3 separate regions of the Homo sapiens genome follow, and all the other regions are linked to region 2. The links are contacts of gene promoters, found by promoter capture Hi-C in human tissues and cell types (Jung and others, 2019). All regions are on one chromosome and are shown on one strand. Each heading gives the region's core, a stretch centred on a gene start or on the middle of the fragment in contact. The rest is flanking DNA. Distances are from core to core; before and after follow the strand shown.

What was found. The method cuts DNA at HindIII sites, captures the fragments that hold promoters and counts their contacts. A contact is called where the count stands out against the background at its distance.
Region 1: a contact is called between a fragment that was not itself captured here and the fragment with the promoter of PTBP3 in region 2, in 1 of the 25 tissues and cell types used here (dorsolateral prefrontal cortex).
Region 3: a fragment that was not itself captured here is called in contact with the fragment with the promoter of PTBP3 in region 2 in 1 of the 25 tissues and cell types used here (stomach).

What each region holds. Positions count from the first base shown.
Region 1 is chr9:112,070,990-112,073,689 of GRCh38, reverse strand. All of the region lies in intron 12 of SUSD1 (sushi domain containing 1), which reads left to right. Among named protein-coding and RNA genes, the nearest start is that of LINC02977, 32 kb to the right of the region's middle. The HindIII fragment of the contact is 3,705 bases long and covers 1-2,700 here.
Region 2 is chr9:112,332,141-112,335,015 of GRCh38, reverse strand. PTBP3 (polypyrimidine tract binding protein 3) reads left to right here and starts at 1,397. Exons shown (of 14, transcript NM_001163788.4): 1 at 1,397-1,546. RefSeq lists an enhancer at 353-1,323 and silencers at 1,073-1,392, 1,543-2,032. The HindIII fragment of the contact is 19,118 bases long and covers 1-2,875 here.
Region 3 is chr9:112,042,715-112,045,562 of GRCh38, reverse strand. The region is part of intron 15 of SUSD1 (sushi domain containing 1); the gene reads left to right. Among named protein-coding and RNA genes, the nearest start is that of LINC02977, 3.7 kb to the right of the region's middle. The HindIII fragment of the contact is 6,855 bases long and covers 1-2,848 here.

The sequences.
Region 1 (2,700 bases), core at 128-2,627, 260 kb after region 2:
TCTCAAACTCCTGACCTCAAGTGATCTGCCTGCCCTTAGCCTCTCAAAGTGCTGGGATTACAGGCATGAGCCACTGTCCAGCTGAGTATGCTATTTTCTTGCTAAGTCTAAAAGCTTTGTAGGCAACATTTTCTTATATAGAGAGAGAAAGAGGAAACCAGAGAGAGGAGGATGGGGGTGGGTGGGGGCGGGGTGGGGAAGAGAGAGAAAGAGAGAGAGAGAGAGTGAGCGTGAGAAAGCCAATACATACGTAAATGTGGAGATAAACCAGACCACTTGTCTTACACAACATGGTGATCATTTGAGATGGAATGTTTATTATGGAACCAAGCATGCTGGAGGAGCAAAGGGAAGAAAAGATGAAAAGGAAATTATTTATTCCCATGTCTTCAGTACCAAGGCTGGCAACTTCTTCAAGAAATTTCCCATCTCTCATTGTATTCATAACAAGAAAAAGGAAAGTACTTTTTCAGACGGTTAGGAAAACAACAGAAAACACAGGAGTGTCCCAGGCATTTATCAGATTGTCACTTTATCAGAGAGGTCCAGCCAGGACTGCCCTGATCCTCCCTGCCCCTGCCTCTGACACCGCCCTCCACAATGGGATGTCCTCAGGGAAGACTGTGCAGGACTAGGTCTCTTGGTTTCTTTTACCGAGGCTTCTCTTTCATGGTTGGTTACCCACAAACCATCCAAGGATGCTGTACCCCTGTGTCCTCAGTGAGAAACCCATCTCCCCTGGCTGGTTCCAAGGTACCACACTTATCCCTGGGGGCCCCCCTGGCTCCAAGGGGGCTGAAGCTGTACCACAGGTCAGCAGAGGGACTGGCCTTCATGCCAGCTGTTTTCCTTTCCAAGTCTTCCGTGGACACAGGCTCTTTTGATATCTGGAGCCCTAACATTAGGTCACGCTAGGAGAGGCATGTTTGCCCTTCCATGCTTCCACAGTCCACGTATTTCTCTCATTCCCAGAAATCTCCCAACTGCTTTCTAGCTTCAAAACAAACCCCAAGCCCCCAAGTAAATGGCTGTGTGGGGATGGGTGTCTCCCAGACCCTCTTGCTACCAGCATCTGAATCTCAGCCAAAGTTAGCTTTTATAAAACGTGCATGAGAAGGTATTCTTAGATCAGAAGCCTGGAAACTAGGGTTTCTGTGTGTGTTGGGAGAGGGGGAGGGGCTTGCTGAGCTGTAACAATTTAATTTAGCAAATATTTATTTATTTACTTGTATTTGTTAAAAATGAGATGGGTTGGCCAGGCACGGTGGCTCATGCCTGTAATCCCATCCCAGCACTTTTGGAAGCTGAGGTGGGTGAGTTCGAGACCAGCCTGGCCAACATGGTGAAACCCAGTCTCTACTAAAAATACAAAAATTAGCTGGGTGTGGTGTGGGTGCTTGTAATCCCACCTACCTGGGAGGCTGAGGCAGGAGAATCTCCTGAACCCGGGAGGCAGAGTTGCAGTGAGCTGAGATTGTGCCACTGCAGTCCAGCCTAGACAACAGAGTGAGACTCCGTCTCAAAAAAAAAAACAAAAAAAAAAAAAAAAGAGAAAGAAAGAAATAAAAAAGAATAAAAATAAATAAATAATAAAAGGAGATGTCTTGAGAAGTCACTAGCAAATATTTTTCGATTGGTTATGTACAAAGACCTGTGCTGCCTACTGAGGATGTACATGTGAAAAGAAATTGGTTTCTTCTCCTTGGGAGGTGAAGTCTCATAACTTTATTGATGGAGAAGATATATCTAGCTGATGACTTGTAGTGGAAGACACTATTTTTTCTGTTGCCTTCAATTTTAATTTACCATGCCTTGGATGGGATGATATATCTGGAGAGGTGCCTGAGGATTAGAAAAGAACCATCATGCTGTGTTTATTTTTCTACCTACTTTTTATTATAGAAAATCCAGAAAAGTAGCATTGTACTGGGTTTTTGGGCGGTGGAGTTGTGTTTTAATTCAATTGTTTGTGTTTACTTGAAGTTTGCAGTACAAAGTTGGAGACGTTGCTTAGTTTTGATGCAGATAAAATTTTCTTCCATTTTTGGTTCTTTTTGTTCATTTTGATGGGTTTTACATAGAGACATTTTAACACATTTGTACTTATACTACCCTTTTTCTTTGGTTGATTTAATAGTTTACCTTCATTAGTGATATTAATATTTTGATAAATATTACAAATTCCTACTCCAAGGCTATTTACTCTTTTGTTTTCTTTTCAATTTTTTTTGAGACTGAGTTTCATTATGTTGCCCTGGCTGGAGTGCTGTGGCACAATCATAGCTTACTGCAGCCTCAAACTCCTGGGCTCAAGCAGTCCTCCTGCCTCAGCCTCCCAAGTAGCTGAGACTACAGGTGCATGTCACCACACCCTGCTAATTTTTTCTTTTTGTAAAGATGAGGTCTTACTATGTTGCCCAGGCTGGTCTCAAACTCCTGAGCCCAAGCAATCATTTTTGCCTAGGCCTCCCAAAAAGCCAGGATTATAGGTGGGAGCCACTGCACCTGACCTACTTTTTTGCACTTAAAATTTAGTTTCAGGCTGGGCACAGTGGCACATTCCTATAATTCCAGCGCTCTAGGAGGCTGAGGAGAGAGGACTGCTTGAGTCCAGGAGTTCAAAGCTGCAGTGAACTATGATCATGCCAGTGCACCCCAGCCTGGGCGACACAGTGAGACCACTTTTCTACAACAAACAAA
Region 2 (2,875 bases), core at 148-2,647:
ACATTTCCATCTGGCAATGTTTACAAATGCAACTTAATATTTAGATTTAATATACAAAACAAAATGTATTTGACATTTTGGAAGGGGACTGAGGTTAGATACAGGACTTTAAGAATTACCTCACCGAATTACTCTACCTATTTGAAAAGTTGTATGTCAAAAATATACATAAACGGACTGAAGAATCCATTCAACAGTGACGGCTGGAACCTGATTTTCTTGTGTATTCATGCAGTGCCCGGCACATAGTAGGTTAATACTGACTGAATGATGAATGAGTCCACAGTTTAGATCTTTTTAGCAGCACCTACTGATCTGAAAGCAGGAAATTAGCAAGGATAGATGTTTGAGGTTCTTGTTAGTTGCTTTTCAAATGACGAAGCCACGGGGAGGAGCCCCGCTCTTTTTTACTCAGTAGGTTAAGAATTTGGCTTAACAGTTTAGGGGGTTACATTTTGGTGATCTGTGAGTTGAAAAAGTACTCAATTTCTCACTAAAAAGGGAAAAAAGCAAGCGTGTTGTCACTCGTTATATTATATATATACTTTTTGCTCAGACCAGAGGGAAGGGCTCTGGTGCAAACGTTTCCTGGTTGTGAAACTGTGAGCAAATCACTCTCTTTGTATATGTATTTTCATCTGAAAAAAGGGAATAATGAGTAAACTTTTAAAAAATGCTGGGAATATAGCCATTCCATGTTTGTACAATGAATTTTTCATATAAATTCAATACTAGACGGTTAGGTCGAAATGCACTCAGATACTTAAATTGTATACAAATTCCAGTCCGGGCAGCCTCTTTCACCTCATTCATCGTCCCAGCCACACCTATGGGGCTGGTGTCGGTCCCAGCGGTCGACTCCAGCGCCGGGCTGCCAGAGGCTGGTCCCTGGACGTGTCATCTACAGCCTCGCGCACCCGGGGCAATTCCACCTCGTTTCTGGGGTCCTTGTGGGACATTCCTTCCTACTCTTGGGAGTCAGGTCCCCATAGCTTTTCCTGCCGGCAGAGGGAGGCATTCAAACCTGGCAGGCCCGGTCTGCGAAGCCGGAAGGCCCGCGGGGCCGCGGGAGGGCGGGCGGGGTGCGCGGCGGAGCGGGAAGCACAAGGCGCGCGCTCCCGCGAACGCAGGAGGGAGGCTGGGGGCGCGCGCGCGCGCCGGGCCGAGGGGCCGAGAGGCGGGGTCTTACAGCGACCGCGGGAAGAGGGCGCCCCAGAGCTGAGCCGGAGGCCGGCTGCCAGCGGGGCGAGGGTGGGCGCGAGCGCAGGGGCGGGCCCCGAGGGAGGGCGGGGACGGTGAGGGGGCGGGGTCGGGCTAGGCGGGGACGCGCTCGCGGGGTGGGGAAGGCGGGGGCGCGGCGGTGGCGGGAGCGTGCCCGGTCCCCGCCCCTGTTCCCACTCTCCTTCCACCTCGGACCGGCCGGGGCTCCGCAGAGCCAAAGCTCGCTTGTCCCCGGAACCGCCCTGCTGCCGCCGCCTGCTTCCTCTGCTCGCGGTTAGCCCGTCAGTCCCTGCTCTGTGCGCGCCTCCATCTGGGCCATGGATGGGTAAGTACTAGGCGGCGCGGCGGCCGCACCGGGTTGCCTTGGCGCCGCTTCCACCCGGCTCTCCGCGGGACGCGTAAGGGCTGGGGAGCAGTGCGCGGCGCCGGCGGCCGGAGGAGCGGCCCCGGCCAAGCCCGACGGCGGGGCTTCCGGGCGTCTCGGTGGGGATCCCGGAATCGCGGAGTTGCCGTCCGCCGCAGGCTCTCCTTTCCCCACGCGGCGCCCCGGACACGTCCGCTGCTTCCTAGCCTTACTCGACACACCCGGGAGCAGAGGAAAGCCCGGTCCGGCCGCGGTGCCGAGGTCCGCCCTCCGCGCCCCGAGTCCGGGGAGCCCAGCTCGGCCTCCCGACACTTCCTCTCAGAAAATGGTGCGCGGCGCTGGGGGAGGCGGAGGCGGCGCGCGGGGCGGGCGTCCTCCTGCCGGGGGAGTTGCTGTTTACCGGCGAGGTGGGGCGAGCGGCCGACGGCGGGTGCACGCGTCGGTACACGTCTGGGCGGCGACCTGGTCGCAAGCCATGGTCCCACGCGGGGTCCCAGGGCCGCCGCGGGACTTGGCCGAGGTCTCCCGACTTGTGCTGTGAGATACGTTAACGCTTTCTCGACACCAGGGGTCTGGACTTAGTGACCATGGACGCTTCCCCCTCACCTTTCTCTCTCCCCAAGAAACTTAATGAATTATCTGCCCGTGTATGTAAAATATGATGTACGAGCGATTTTCGGGGGCATTTCAAATGCTCAAAAATTTAATGGGGGTCCGTGACCAAAATAAAAAGATTTAGAGTCTATGTATATAAACTGTTCTCTGGGGACTCAGGGATATGGGGTGGGACTTGACATATTTTGGTAATTAAAGTAACAACTATGTTAGGATTTTGGTGAATTAATTGAAGGTTGTAGTATCTGTACCTACGGATTAAAAAAAAATCTCCAACTCGGTTTATTCCCATTATGTATTTGAGGTTTTTTTTAGCTTGTTACCTACTTTTGATGACAAGATTTCTGTGAGGTTGTGGAATATATGCAACTTGCTAGAACAGTAAAAGTCGTTCACATGTTGCCATACAGTTGATGATATGCTATTTGAAGATGAAATCTTCCAACAGCTTTTGACCTCATTAGATTTCATTTATTTTAGTTTCACAATATTAAGTGTATATGACATTTCGGATTGATTCATTTGAATGCAGATTGCACACTGCTACAGACATCAAAGTGGAGTTTTAGATTTTATTCATGATTGTGATGTTCTTTATTTTTATTTGATTGAAGCTTCAAAAAATTTCTTAAAATTATAACTTTTTTGGGTACACAGTAGGTGTATATATTTTGG
Region 3 (2,848 bases), core at 275-2,774, 290 kb after region 2:
CATTTCTTCTTGCACAGAGTCAGTAATTGGTCAGGGAAATATGGCACGCATAATAACAATAATGTCCTTGTGGACAATGTGGGGACATGAGAGCTGTATGTGGGCTTAGAAACAAGCTGAATGGCTATGCACAGTTGATATCAACTCATTAACAATTATTGATGAGTTGAAATCAAACCCAAGAATATGCATGATATGGATTTCTGTCCACAGTCATCTTCAGTTCAACATATTCATCAATCAGTGATTAAAATATACAGAGGGTTAAAGTGTAGAGGAAAAAATACACAGAAAAAAACTTGATGTCAGAAGTTGGAAGGAATACTGGGTAGATCGGATGAAATGCCAGTGCAGTAAAGTACCAGCTCCCCCGTTCATCTCCAGAATTGTATTTTCTCTTAAAAACAAAACAAAACAAAACAAATCTAGTTAATTAGTCCACCAAGATGGCATTTAAAAAAATGTTTCTGAGTCATGCACAAAGATGGCATCTTAATGCCTTAATTTGCATTTTTATTACTTGTAAGAGAGCATTTGCTCAAAGTTTTATTGATCATCTGTAATCATGTTTTTCATGTGATTTACCTTTTCGTAGAATTTTCTCATTTCGCTATTGAGGTATGTCTTTATTAATCTGTAACACTCTCTGTATGTTAACTTCTTGCCCATTATTCTAGATATTTTATCCAGCTTGCCATTTGCCTTTTAATCTTGCTTATGGTAGTTTTTGGTATAAGAAGTGCATGCTTTTTAAAGTGGTTAAATCTCTCATTCTCTTAAGGTTTCTGTGTTAACGAATATGCTTAGAAATTTCTTACCCCCTTTAATATTAGGTAAATATTCACTAACATTTCCTAATCCTTTTAGGTTTCAATTTAAGTCTGTAATCCATCTGGATTTTATTTTGATATATGGTGTAAGCTCTAGTGATCAAAATTATTTGATTCTAAATGGTTAGCCAATTTTCTCAGCACTGGTTATGAAAAATTTATCATTTCCCCAATGATCTGAAACAGTATCAAAACAACAAAAACAATAATAATTAACAATAGCTAACATTTGCTTATTGCTTATTCTGTGCCAGGCACTGTTTCAACCTGTACTAACTCACTGACTTCTCCCACTACCTAGAGGTGGGTAGTATTGCTATCATTCCCATGTTATTACAGCATCCCTCAGTGTGGGGACTGAGACACAGAATGGATGAATAACTTGCACAAAGTCACACAGGCAGTGGTGGTGTTCAGATAAAGACTTGGACATCTGACTCCAGTATTCAAACTTTGAAAGTATTTGATATGCTTGGATTTGTTTCTAGGCTATTTTGTTCCAATGTATTCATTCCTATTCTAATACTGCACTGTTTTACTGTCTTGCAATTCAAGTCACTCTCCTAATATTTTTTCTTTACTAATTCTTCACTTAATCACTGTTTCTCCTTCCATTTTATAATCTAGTTTCTTGGCTGGGCATGGTGGCTCATGCCTATAATTCTAGCACTTTGGGAGGCCAAGATGGGCAGATCGCCTGAGGTCAAGAGTTCGAGACCAGCCTGGCCAACATGGTGAAGCCCTGTCTCTACTAAAATACAAAAACTAGCCGGGCGTGGTGGAGTACACCTGTAGTCCCAGCTACTAGGGAGACTGGGGCAGGAGAATCGCTTGAATCCGGGAGGTGGAGGTTGCAGTGAGCCGAGATCATGCCACTGCACTCCAGCCTGGGTGACAGAGCAAGACTCTGTCTCAAAAAATAATAATAAATAAAAATAAAATAAAACAAAATAAGTAATCTAGCTTCTTAAAGTGTCAAGGCCATTTTTCTTCTATAGACTAAAAGCAACCAAATAATATAAGCCATGTTTTCTAGAAAGGCTCTTGGCAGCATTTTTTGAGAATTAGTAACCGCCCAATGAGTTTTCCTTGCCTGCTGCCTAGACAGAGCTGATTTATCAAGACAGAGGAATTGCAATAAAGAGCTTAATTCACACAGAGCCAACTGTATGGGAGACTGGAGTTTTATTATTACTCAAATCAGTCTCCCTGAAAATTCAGGGATGGGGTTTTTAAGGATTACTTAGTGGGTAGGGGGTAGGGGATGGGGGGGTCAGTGAGTCAGAAGTGCTGATTGGTTGGGTTGGAGATGAAATCACAGAGTCGAAGCTGTCCTCTTGCACTGAGTCAATTTCTGGTTGGGGGCCACAAGATCAGATGAACCAGTTTATGGATCTGGGTGATGCCAGCCGATCCATGGAGTGCAGGGTCTGGAAAATATCTCAAGCACTGATCTTAGGTTTTACAATAGTGATGTTAGCCCTAGGAGCAATTTGAGCAGTTCAGAATCTTGCAGCTTCCAGCTGTAGGACCCCTAAACCATAATTTCTAATCTCATGGCTAATTTGTTAGTCTTGCAAAGGCAGTCTAGTCCCCAGACAGGATGGGGATTTGTTTGGGGAAAGGGCTATTATCGTCTTTGTTTCAAAGTTAAACTATAAACTGAGTTCCTCCCAAAGTTAGTTCAGCCTACGCCCAGGAATGAACAGGGGCAACTTGGAGGTTAGAAGCAAGATGGAGTCAGTCAGGTCAGATCTTTTTCACGGTTATAATTTTCTCGGTTATAATTTTTAAAAAGGCGGTTTCAAGTTCTGCAGGGCTGTTTAACACAAGGTGTATTCTATGGCTGGTTTTACTAGTGCCAGGTACTGTACTGAGTTTCCAATAGAAATGCACTCCTCTTAACCTGGCTGTAAAGACCTGAGTTGTACTTAGCCACTCCCACCTTGGTTCCTTAAGGGAATAATAATAGTACCCAATGTGAAGGCTGGTTAGAAGCCTAAATGAGTGAATATTTG